Linked DNA regions of Homo sapiens: region 2 is linked to region 1. The links are contacts of gene promoters, found by promoter capture Hi-C in blood cells and fetal thymus (Javierre and others, 2016). All regions are on one chromosome and are shown on one strand. Each heading gives the region's core, a stretch centred on a gene start or on the middle of the fragment in contact. The rest is flanking DNA. Distances are from core to core; before and after follow the strand shown. Region 1 holds the start of CSE1L (chromosome segregation 1 like). Region 2 overlaps ZNFX1 (zinc finger NFX1-type containing 1).

Region 1 (5,656 bases), core at 1,833-4,332:
ACCTGGGCAACATGGTGCCATCTCTACAAAAAAAAAATAAAAATTAGTTGAGTGTGGTGGTGCACGCCTGTAGTCCTAGCTACTCGGGAGGCTGAGGTAGGAGGATAGACTGAGCCCAGGTCAGCCCAGGCAACACAGTGAGATGGTGTCTCCAAAAAAAAAAGGGAGGGAGAAGATAAGAATTCATTTTTATCACCTTTAAATGAGGGGGTGATACTTTTCTTTCTCCACGTAACTATCTTTGGAAATCTCTACCAATACACAATTAAGAAACTTAAAAAAGCATCACAATAAATCAGTTATGGCAGACATCTAAATTTCCAAGTTCTTCTTGTTGAATGAATGGCCAGACCTAAGTCTAGCATCTTCCCACAGGCCCTCAATTACAGGTGGAGATTTCTGGAATAAAAGCTTTGTTTTCCAAAGCCATCTCACAGACATCTGTGACATAAGCTGATCCAAGATGTCTGCCTTTTTCTTAGATATGTCCTCAACACATTAGAGAACCATTCCCGAGGCCTTACATTTGGGAAGAGGGAAAGAGATCCAATGAATGAAAACTATCTGGCACCCACACATGAAGAACATATCCCAACACCTCAACCTACCCTCTGCTTTCTAACCATAGGAATATACCACTTAGAATCAAATCCAAACTCCTTACATTGCCTACAAAGCCTTCTATGATCCGGGTCCTGGATATTTCTCCCTTCTTCATGTAACACTCTAGGAACCTAAGATATTCCTTAAATATTTCAATATTCCAAGCCGGTTCCTGTCCTTGAGCCTTGAGCCTTCTATTCCCTCTACCTGGAATGTTCTGCCCCTCACCTTTTAATGGCTGGTCTCTACCCAAATGTCACCTCCTCAGAAAAGCCTTCTTCACCTGTCACATAATTCTGTCACTATCTGAAATTATCTAATGTTTTTTCTTTCGCCCACGAGAATACATGGTCCTCAAGGGAAGGGACCTTGTCCATTTTTGTTTTTTCACTATATTCCCAGAGATTAAGTGGATGCTCAATAAAGTTATTAAATGAATAAAGAAACAAATTAATTCCAAAACTAGAGCACTGCTCTTGCATCCATCCAATCCTGTCCCAGACCCCAACCAGCAGAAGTAATCAGAAGGGGAGAGAGACTTCCCTTGCACTGATGGTAAGAAGTGAAAGATAAAGGGTTGTAGGAGCGGAGAGACGAGGTCCATTAGGATCCTCTGAAAGCATGTCAAAAAAAAAAAAAAAAAAGAGAGAGACACACACAGAGAAAGGCCAAAGATATGACTATGTGGGCCCAAGGTGAGAAAAAGAGCAATTGGTGGAATCCAAGACTAAAGGGTCCCCTTCTGTGCCTCCAAGGAAGAATAATACTTGTGCATCTACCATGTGGCAAGCACAGGTGGGATGGCACCCACCAGGGAGAGAGAAGTAAGCAAGACAGACAAGGTCCTTGCTCTCAAACAGCTTACATTCTAGCAGTTGAGAAAGATAACAAGTAAGCAATAAGTAAGTGTTAGTAAATGCTATGAAGTAACTAAAACCAGGTGATGTTGATGGAGAGCCATGGGAGAAAGGTCCTAGACAGGTTGATTAGACAGCCTGATCAACATGGTGAAACCCCGTCTCTAATAAAAATACAAAAATTAGCCGGGTGTGGTGGCGTGTAGTCTCAGACCTGTAGTCTCAGCTATTCGGGAGGCTGAGGCAGGAGAATCGCTTGAATCCGGGAGGCGGAGGTTGCAGTGAGTCGAGATCGCGCCACTGCACTCCAGCCTGGGAGGCAGAGCGAGACTCTCTCTCTCAAAAAAAAAAAAAAAAAAAAAAAAAAAAGAAAAGAGAAAAGAAAAAGAAAAAGAAAACAAAAGAAGAGGTTGGTTAGGGGAGGCCTAAGGTGAGGGAAACTTGGGAGAGGCGGCCTGCCTTGCAAAAATGTTGGTACTTCCCCAGCAAACAAAAGGCATGTGCAAATAATTTTAAATCGGAATAACCCTGGAATATGGAAGAAACAGAAAGCCACACTGGCTAAGGAGAAAGATGGGTGGGAGAGATGAATAAACAACCGTCAGCTCCCAGGGAACCTTTGTAAACCACGGTAAATAACTCAGCGCATCCTCAAAGCCACTTTCCGAGGTAGATTCTGTTATTAACCCCATTTTGCAGCTAAGGAAATGGAGGCTCAGTGAGATGAGGTGACCAGCCTCAAGTTACACCCCTAACGAGAGGCTACGTCTGGAATGAACCCAGGCGATCTAATTCCAAAGTCTATGCTCCGAACCACCACAGCACAGCGTTTCTCCCAAAACGAGGGAACCCTCCCCCAACCCGCGTTACAGGGGATTTCTATGTCCCGGGTGTACCGACTAGAATTCTCACAAACAATTCAGCAAAGTGAGATCACGATGCCCGTTTTACAGTCAGGGATACAAGTACAGAGGTTAGAGAAGGGTGAGTTCGGGGGCTTCACTAGAGTTAGGGCAAGGGACGACGCGAGGCAGCCGCAGCTCCACGCGCCCGCAGTCCCCGCCCGGGCAGGCCTCGCCGCCGCACACTCAGCTCGCGCGGCTAGCAGCCACCGTCGCAGAGAATGGACATGCGAGCGCGACCAATAAGGAGCGGCCTTCCCGAGCGGAGAGGCGGCGGCGCAGCCAATCAGCGCCGTGATGGAGAGGAAAGGGCGGGCAATCCGCAGGCTCGCGTTAGGCCGCGCCTCAGTTGCCCTCAGCCCTCACAGGCCCTGGGGTCGCCGCACCTGGGCCAGAGACCTAGGATGCCGCGAGGCGCGGCAAGCGCTCCCTAGGGAAGCCGAAGACCTTGCCTGAGCGCACCACCCGAACCCCGGGCCCACATTCCGCTCTCGCCCAGAGGCGCGGTTCTCACTCCCTAGCGCTCGTTAGTACCGGGAGCGCCTCATCCCTTCCTCAGCTGGGCCCCAAGAGCCACTCTGGTAGGCCGTGCACGCCCCGCGCCTCACCTCGTGGGGATACAGAAACGGAGGAGGGAACCCCAGCCGCGGACCGTAGCTGGCACTACCCGCTCCTGCCGCCGCTCCGCCTCACATTCAAACCCCGGCAAAATGGCGCGACAGCGAGCCTGAGGCCAGAGCGCATGAGCGAGCGGCCCGCTGCAGGGGGCGGGGCCAGGAATGCTCTGGCCCCACCCAAGTTCGAAGGGCCAATCGGGGCCCCGCTCTGTTTCTGCGCTGATCTCACAAGTGACAATGCTCTTTGGCTCTGACCATGCCAGCAGGCTTCACGGTTCTCGTTTTCCAAAGAGGAACACAGATTCAGCGAGCGGCTGCTGGCTTCTGACCCATTTTGATGTCAGGGCTTGGCACGTAGGAGGTGTTCAATGTTGATCGATCCAAGGTCGTGCACATAGGGTCTAAGACGGAAGAGAACTTCCTGCCCCTCTTGGAGCTTCTATTTTAGAGGGAGACACGGCCAGACAGGTCTCGAACTCCTGGCCTCAAGTGATCCGCACACCTTGGCCTCCCAAAATGCTGGGATTCCAGGCGTGAGCCACCGCGCCTGGCCTGGTATGTAAGTTTTGGTACTCTTATTACAGCCCACAAACCATATGGGATCTGGCCCCTGCCAGCCTGCCTGCCCTCATCACCTTCCGCTTCCCTCCTCTCCTCACCCTCACTCAGCTCCGCCACCCCACCTTCTTCCTGTTCCTCTAAGCTCCAAGCTTATTTCCACTTTAGAGCATTTATACTTGCTGTTCCCTGTGCTGGGATGTTCTAGATTCCTGAATGATTGGCTCCTTCTTTACATTTAGGTTCCAGCTCAAATGTCACCTCCACAAAAGAGGCCTATCTGAAATTGCCCACTCACCACCACCCAGCACACAAATTAGGGTTGCCAGGTTTAGCAAATAAAATGCAGGCTGCCCAGGTCAATGTAAATTTTAGAAAAAAATTTATAATTTTCTAGTATAAATACTGTGTAGGACATATTTATACTTAAAAATCATGCATTGCTTATCTGAAATTCACATTGAACTGGGTGCCCAGTGTTTGATCTGGTAAGCCTAGTTCCATGATATCATTATGGTATTTATCACTCTCCAACTAATTGTCTCTTCTTTATTTTGTTCCTCCTTCCGCTTCTCCCCTCCTAAACCCCTGCCCTCCTCCCCATCCATAACCTAAGGGATTCTATACAGCAAGGGCTTTTCTTTTTTTTTTTTTTTTTTAAAGACAGAGTCTTGCTCTGTCGCCCAGGCTGGAGGGCTGGAGTGCAGTGGTGCTGTCACAGCTCACTGCAACCTCTGCCTCCCAGGTTCAAGCAATTTTCCTGACTCAGCCCCCCAAGTTACTGGGACTACAGGTGCCCGCCACCATGCCCCGCTGATTTTTGTATTTTTAGTAGACACGGGGTTTCACCATATTGGCCAGGCTGATCTTGAACTCCTGACCTTGTGATCCGCCAGCCTTGGCCTCCCAAAGTGCTGGGATTACAGGCATGAGCCACCACGCCTGGCCAGGGCTTTTTTTTTTTTTTTTTTTTTCTTTTAAGAGGCAGGGTCTTGCTCTGTCACCCAGGCTGCAGTGCAATGGCACAATCATAGCTCATTGCAACCTCGACCTCCTAGGCTAAAGCAATCCTCCCACCTCAGCCTCCTGAGTAGCTAGGACTACAGGCACCTGCCACCACACCTGGCTAATTTTGAATTTTTTTGTAGAGATGAGCTCTCACTATGTTGCCCAGGCAAACTCCTGGCCTCAAGTGATCCTCCCACCTCCGCCTCCTAAAGCACTGGGATAGGGCTGGGCATGGTGGCTCACGCCGGTAATCCCAGTGATTTGGGAGACCGAGGCAGGCAGATCACCTGAGATTGGGAGTTTGAGACCTGACCAACATGGAGAAACCCCGTCTCTACTAAAAATACAAAATTAGCCGGGTGTGGTGGCGCACGTCTGCAATCCCAGCTACTTGGGAGGCTGAGGCAGGAGAGTCGTTTGAACCCGGGAGGCAGAGGTTGCGGTGAGCTGAGATCTTGCCATTGCACTCCAGCCTGGGCAACAAGAGCGAAACTCCATCTCAAAAAAAAAAAAAGCCCCGGGATTACAGGTGTGAGCCACCACATCTAGCCCCATATTGATGGTATTCACAGCTGTACCCCCAGCACTAGGCACACAGTAGCTGCTTAATAAATGTTTGTTGCATGTTGAATGAAATGCCATATATAAATAAGTGAAGTCCATGGAGAAAGATACATGAGTGAAAGACATTGGTGAGGCCGGGCACGGTGGCTCATGCCTGTAATCCCAGCACTTTGGAAGGCTGAGGCAGGCGGATCATGAGGTCAGGAGATCGAGACCATCCTGGCCAACATGGTAAAACCCTGTCTCTACAAAAATACAAAAATTAGCCAGATGTGGTGGCATGCGCCTGTAGTCCCAGCTACTCAGGAGGCTGAGGCAGGAGAATCGCTTGAACCTGGGAGGCAGAGGCTGCAGTGAGCCGAGATCGAGCCACTGCACTCCAGCCTGGGTGACAGCGAGACTGTGTCTTAAAAAAATAAATAAATAAATAAAATAAAAATAAAAATAAACCATGATGGTCAGAAGACGGTGGAACATTTTAAAAAAAAACAAAGACATTGGTGAAAAAGATGTATTTTTACTATTGCAGCAATAGTACCAGTAATCA
Region 2 (5,656 bases), core at 2,078-4,577, 200 kb before region 1:
CTGGAGCAGAGTAAGTGGCCAGTGCATGTCAAGAGAGGAAGAAAAAAACAAGTGCCATGAGTGAACCTTTTAACATGTCACTTCTTTTCCCTGTCAGGGGGTGTCTTCCAACCTTTTCTTTGTAGAACACAACTTTCCTGAACAGGAAATCCAAGAGGGCAAAAGCCATCAGAACCAGCATGAGGCTCACTTTGTGGTAGAGCTGTGCAAGTACTTCCTGTGCCAGGAATACCTGCCTTCCCAGATCACCATCCTCACTACCTATACCGGGCAGCTCTTCTGCCTGCGCAAACTGATGCCTGCCAAGACATTTGCTGGCGTCAGGGTCCATGTTGTGGACAAATACCAAGGGGAAGAGAATGACATCATCCTCCTCTCGCTAGTGCGGAGCAACCAAGAAGGCAAGGTGGGTTTTCTGCAGATATCCAACCGCATCTGTGTGGCCTTGTCCCGAGCCAAGAAGGGAATGTACTGCATCGGAAACATGCAGATGCTGGCCAAGGTGCCCCTGTGGAGCAAGATCATTCATACACTTCGAGAGAACAATCAAATAGGCCCCATGCTCCGGCTCTGCTGCCAGAACCACCCTGAAACCCACACCTTAGTATCCAAAGCTTCTGACTTCCAAAAAGTACCCGAAGGAGGCTGCAGCCTGCCCTGCGAGTTCCGCCTGGGCTGTGGGCATGTCTGCACCCGTGCCTGCCACCCTTATGACTCTTCACACAAGGAGTTCCAATGCATGAAGCCATGCCAGAAGGTCATCTGTCAGGAAGGGCACCGGTGTCCCCTTGTTTGCTTCCAGGAGTGTCAGCCTTGTCAGGTGAAGGTGCCCAAAACCATTCCTCGGTGCGGCCATGAACAAATGGTCCCTTGTTCCGTGCCTGAGTCAGATTTCTGCTGCCAGGAGCCTTGCTCCAAGTCTCTGAGATGTGGGCACAGATGCAGCCACCCATGTGGTGAGGACTGTGTGCAGCTGTGTTCAGAAATGGTCACCATAAAACTCAAGTGTGGGCACAGTCAACCGGTAAAATGTGGTCATGTGGAAGGCCTCCTGTATGGTGGTCTGCTAGTCAAGTGTACCACAAAGTGTGGCACTATCTTGGACTGCGGGCATCCTTGCCCAGGCTCCTGCCACAGCTGCTTCGAAGGGCGTTTCCATGAACGCTGTCAGCAGCCCTGCAAGCGCCTGCTTATCTGCTCACACAAGTGCCAGGAACCATGCATTGGTGAGTGCCCACCCTGCCAGCGGACCTGTCAGAACCGCTGTGTCCACAGCCAGTGCAAGAAGAAATGTGGGGAGCTGTGTAGTCCCTGCGTGGAACCCTGTGTCTGGCGCTGCCAGCACTACCAGTGCACCAAACTCTGCTCTGAGCCCTGCAACCGACCCCCATGCTATGTGCCTTGTACTAAGCTGCTAGTTTGTGGCCACCCCTGCATTGGTCTCTGTGGGGAGCCATGCCCCAAGAAATGCCGGATCTGCCACATGGATGAGGTCACCCAAATATTCTTTGGCTTTGAGGATGAGCCTGATGCCCGCTTTGTGCAGCTGGAAGACTGCAGCCACATCTTTGAGGTGCAAGCCCTAGACCGCTACATGAATGAACAGAAGGATGATGAAGTCGCCATCAGATTGAAAGTCTGCCCTATCTGCCAGGTGCCCATCCGCAAAAACCTGAGGTATGGAACTAGCATAAAACAGCGGCTAGAAGAGATTGAAATCATCAAGGAAAAGATCCAGGGCTCAGCAGGGGAAATAGCAACCAGCCAGGAACGGCTTAAGGCCCTGCTGGAGAGGAAGAGCCTCCTCCACCAGCTGCTTCCTGAAGACTTCCTGATGTTAAAGGAGAAGCTGGCCCAGAAAAATCTGTCAGTGAAGGACCTGGGTCTGGTTGAGAATTACATCAGCTTCTATGACCACCTGGCCAGCCTGTGGGATTCCCTGAAAAAGATGCATGTCTTAGAAGAGAAAAGAGTGAGGACTCGACTAGAACAGGTCCATGAGTGGCTGGCCAAGAAGCGCTTGAGCTTCACTAGCCAGGAACTAAGTGACCTCCGAAGTGAAATCCAGAGGCTCACATACCTGGTGAACCTTCTGACCCGCTACAAGATAGCAGAGAAGAAGGTGAAAGATAGCATAGCAGTAGAGGTCTATAGTGTCCAGAATATCCTTGAGAAAACATGTAAGTTCACCCAAGAGGATGAACAACTTGTGCAGGAAAAGATGGAAGCTCTGAAAGCCACCCTTCCCTGCTCTGGCCTGGGCATCTCAGAGGAAGAGCGAGTGCAGATTGTCAGTGCCATAGGTTATCCTCGTGGTCACTGGTTCAAGTGCCGCAATGGCCATATCTATGTGATTGGCGATTGTGGGGGAGCCATGGAGAGGGGCACGTGTCCTGACTGTAAGGAAGTGATTGGTGGCACAAATCATACTCTGGAAAGAAGCAACCAGCTTGCTTCTGAAATGGATGGAGCCCAGCATGCTGCCTGGTCTGACACGGCCAACAACCTGATGAACTTTGAGGAGATCCAGGGGATGATGTAGGAAGATGGTACACCACTGCCTTTTGCCCTCGCCACTGAATGACTGGGGCCAGCTCCCTAATGAAGGAACTGAAGTTTGTTTTTTATTATCATCCTTTTTAGGCTGGGCGCAGTGGCTTACGCCTGTAATCCCAGCACTTTGGGAGGCCGAGGCAGGCGGATCACGAGGTCAGGAGTTCGAGACCAGCCTGACCAACATGGCGAAACCCCGTCTCTACTAAAAATACAAAAATTAGCTGGGCGTTATGGCGGGCGCCTGTAATCCCAGCTACTTGGGAGGCTGAGGCAGAAGAATCGCTTAAACCCAGGAGGCGGAGGTTGCAGTGAGCTGAGATCATGCCATTGCACTCCAGTCTGGGCGACAGGAGCAAGACTCTGTCTCAAAAAAAAAAAAATCATTCTTTTTAGTCTTAGCACCTACTTAAGGATCCACTTTTAGGGCTCACCCACATTTGTTTCTAGATTTACCCCTGCGCTAGAGTAAGCACTTTATCTCCAGAACTGAGAGCAAAGTTAACAAATCTCACCCCTTCTCTCCTGCAAATTAGTGGACAGACTCCCTGGAACATGTTTGGGGCTTCCACCTAGGGCCACCTAGTGGTATCTCTGGGTCTTTACTTGGTCAGATGTTTATTCTACATTGTTCCCCAGGAACAGAGTATGAGCTCATTGATGCAGACCGATTCTAATTGCCAGGCCCTAATTTGCAGACTAACTCTCATAATAAACAGAGGCCCATAGTTGTTTATGAACTGCTTATCCCTTAAAGGAGCACAAGAACCCCTCCCTGCCCTCCTTGGGCACCCTGCCTCCAGGAGATGGAGGCACGTGATAAGACAAAAGACTGCACCAACTCACCCTGACACAGTTACATAGTCACTGAGAGTGGGGAAGATGGGACAGCCCACATGCTGCATAAGATGGGCCTTATGCAGCAGGCCCAGGTCGTCATTAAGGAGTGACCCCTTTCCTGTAACCTGCACTTTGGGATGGTAGAAGTTTCTTTACCTGCTGACAGGTTTGGTGGCACTGCTGGTTACCCCTGGGCCCTGAATGGAGCTAAAATCACATTTGGTACCAGCAGCACCTATCCCAAGTGTGATCCTTCATCCCAACACTCCCTCTTGGAGCTGTTCCCTGGGTAGAGCTAGCATGCCAGCAGCTTCTGCAGGCTCCAAACCCAGGCCAGAAGCCAGACCCAGGCCTGCTGCCTGCATCTGCATTCCCTCCTTCCAGTGTTCCTTAGAACAGACATTTAGGTATCTCAGGTCCTTTCTAAGTGTCCCTTTCCTATGTATGCATTTCCTTTTTTTGTCTTTACTATGCACTTTAGCTTATAAAGCCAATTAAAAACAATGATTGAGAAAATCAGTGGTCCACGTGTATCCTCAATTTTCAGAAGCAACTCAGCCAAAGACAGTGAAGACGGGCACAGGGAAGGCACTGTCTACAGTGAGGCTGTGATTTTGTTTTTGTGATACAGGATTTTTATTTAGCTGGTGAATGAATCATTTTTACCCACGGTAAAAAGAACATTTTTTCAGCCTGTACAAAAGGGTATACCTGAAGTTTCTTTCTCCAGAGGCAAACCCTGTTAACTTCCTGAGTCCTCCCAGAGAGAACTTATGCACATGCAATACACATCCCTTAGGCCAGGCATGGTGGCTCACATCTGTAATCCCAGCACTTTGGGAGGCCACATTGGGCAGATGGCCTGAGCCCAGGAGTTCAAGACCAGCCTGGGCAACAGGGCGAAACCATCTCCACAAAAAAAAAAATACAAAAATAAGCCAGGTGTTGTTGCTTGCACTTGTAGTCCTAGCTACTCCAAAGGCTGAGGTAGGAGGATCACCTGAGCCTGGGGAGGTCGAGGTTGCAGTGAGCAGTGAAGCCACTGCACTCCAGCCTGGGCAAGAGTGAGACCCTGCTTCAAAAAAAGGAAAAGGAAAAGAAAAAGTACACAGTTCTGCACTTGGCTTTTTTAGCCTAATAACCTACTTTCTGTAAAATCCAGTAAGACAGTAGTCTGAACTGTACTCCATCACACAGTTGTGCCATCATTTTCTGAATTGGACCCTCTGTTGGTGACTTAGGTGCAGCCTGAATGAATAGCTTTGAACACACTCTTTAGTATCTAGGGTATGTGCTACTGGATAACTTATAATTTTTAAGCTGGGGGTAGGGTGGTAAGTACTCCCTGAAATTATAACAAACTATACAGTTTTCCAGGTGGGGCCCCACAGCTTTCATCTCATTCTGAGTCAGAAAAGGATGAGAACCGACGTTCTTACAGGATCAAAACTGGTTTTTGGCCAGGTACAGTGGTTCAAGCCTGTAATCCCAGCACTTTGGGAGGCTGAGGTGGTGGATCACCTGAGGTCAGGAGTTCAAGACCAGCCTGGCCAACATGGTGAAACCCTGTCTCTCCTAAAAATACAAAAATTAGCCAGGCATGGTAGCGGGCACCTGTAATCACCGGTATTTGGGAGGCTGAGGCAGGAGATTCGCTTGAACCCGGGAGGTGGAGGTTGCAATGAGCCAAGATCGTGTCATTGCACTCCAGCCTGGAGGACAAGAGACTCTGGTTTTTGCAGCAAGTAACTAATTTATGGTGTCAAGGCTCCTTCTGTCCTTTTCGGGCTTCCATTTCTCCAGCAGCATTTCCACAGCACAGCAGCAAGAGGTAAGGTGAGGGTTCAAGTAGATGTTGGTTGAAAACCTGAATTCCCAGCTGTGCAACTCTGGAAAGTTAGTCTTTCCAAGCCTCTGTTTATTGGAAAATGAGGATATCACTGCCTGCCTCACAGGAGTGCAGTGAGTTGACTGGATTCTATTCAGCACACAGAATATCTGGTGCATGGTTGGCATTCATGCTAAAGTTCTCCCCTGTTGATGTTTTAGAACTAAGAGTTATCATTTAGCTATCTTCTTCAGCTATCATTTAGCTCTTAGTTCTAGAGTATCAACAGAAGAGAACTTTTCTGTTGTTGTTGTTTTTTTTTAAGAGACAGGGTCTTGTTATGTTCCCCAGGCTAGAAGAGAACTTCTACCAAGAATTTCCTCACTCCATACCCTGTTCCTCTACAAGCATAAAGATTATGCATACCAACTGTAT

The links. Contacts are between HindIII fragments. The CHiCAGO score rates a contact against its expected background, and 5 or more counts as called.
Region 2: a contact is called between a fragment that was not itself captured here and the fragment with the promoter of CSE1L in region 1, in 1 of 17 cell types (activated CD4 T cells). The highest score is 5.4, in activated CD4 T cells.

The regions. Positions count from the first base shown.
Region 1 is chr20:49,043,738-49,049,393 of GRCh38, reverse strand. It overlaps CSE1L (chromosome segregation 1 like), which reads right to left and starts at 3,082. Exons shown (of 25, transcript NM_001316.4): 1 at 2,971-3,082. It overlaps CSE1L-DT (CSE1L divergent transcript), which reads left to right and starts at 3,338. Exons shown (of 2, transcript NR_110625.1): 1 at 3,338-3,534. RefSeq lists enhancers at 2,084-2,724, 2,690-2,759, 3,310-3,459. The HindIII fragment of the contact is 3,278 bases long and covers 414-3,691 here.
Region 2 is chr20:49,244,153-49,249,808 of GRCh38, reverse strand. It overlaps ZNFX1 (zinc finger NFX1-type containing 1), which reads left to right. Exons shown (of 14, transcript NM_021035.3): 14 at 98-3,909. The coding sequence ends at 2,542. Among named protein-coding and RNA genes, the nearest start is that of DDX27, 28 kb to the right of the region's middle. The HindIII fragment of the contact is 5,422 bases long and covers 617-5,656 here.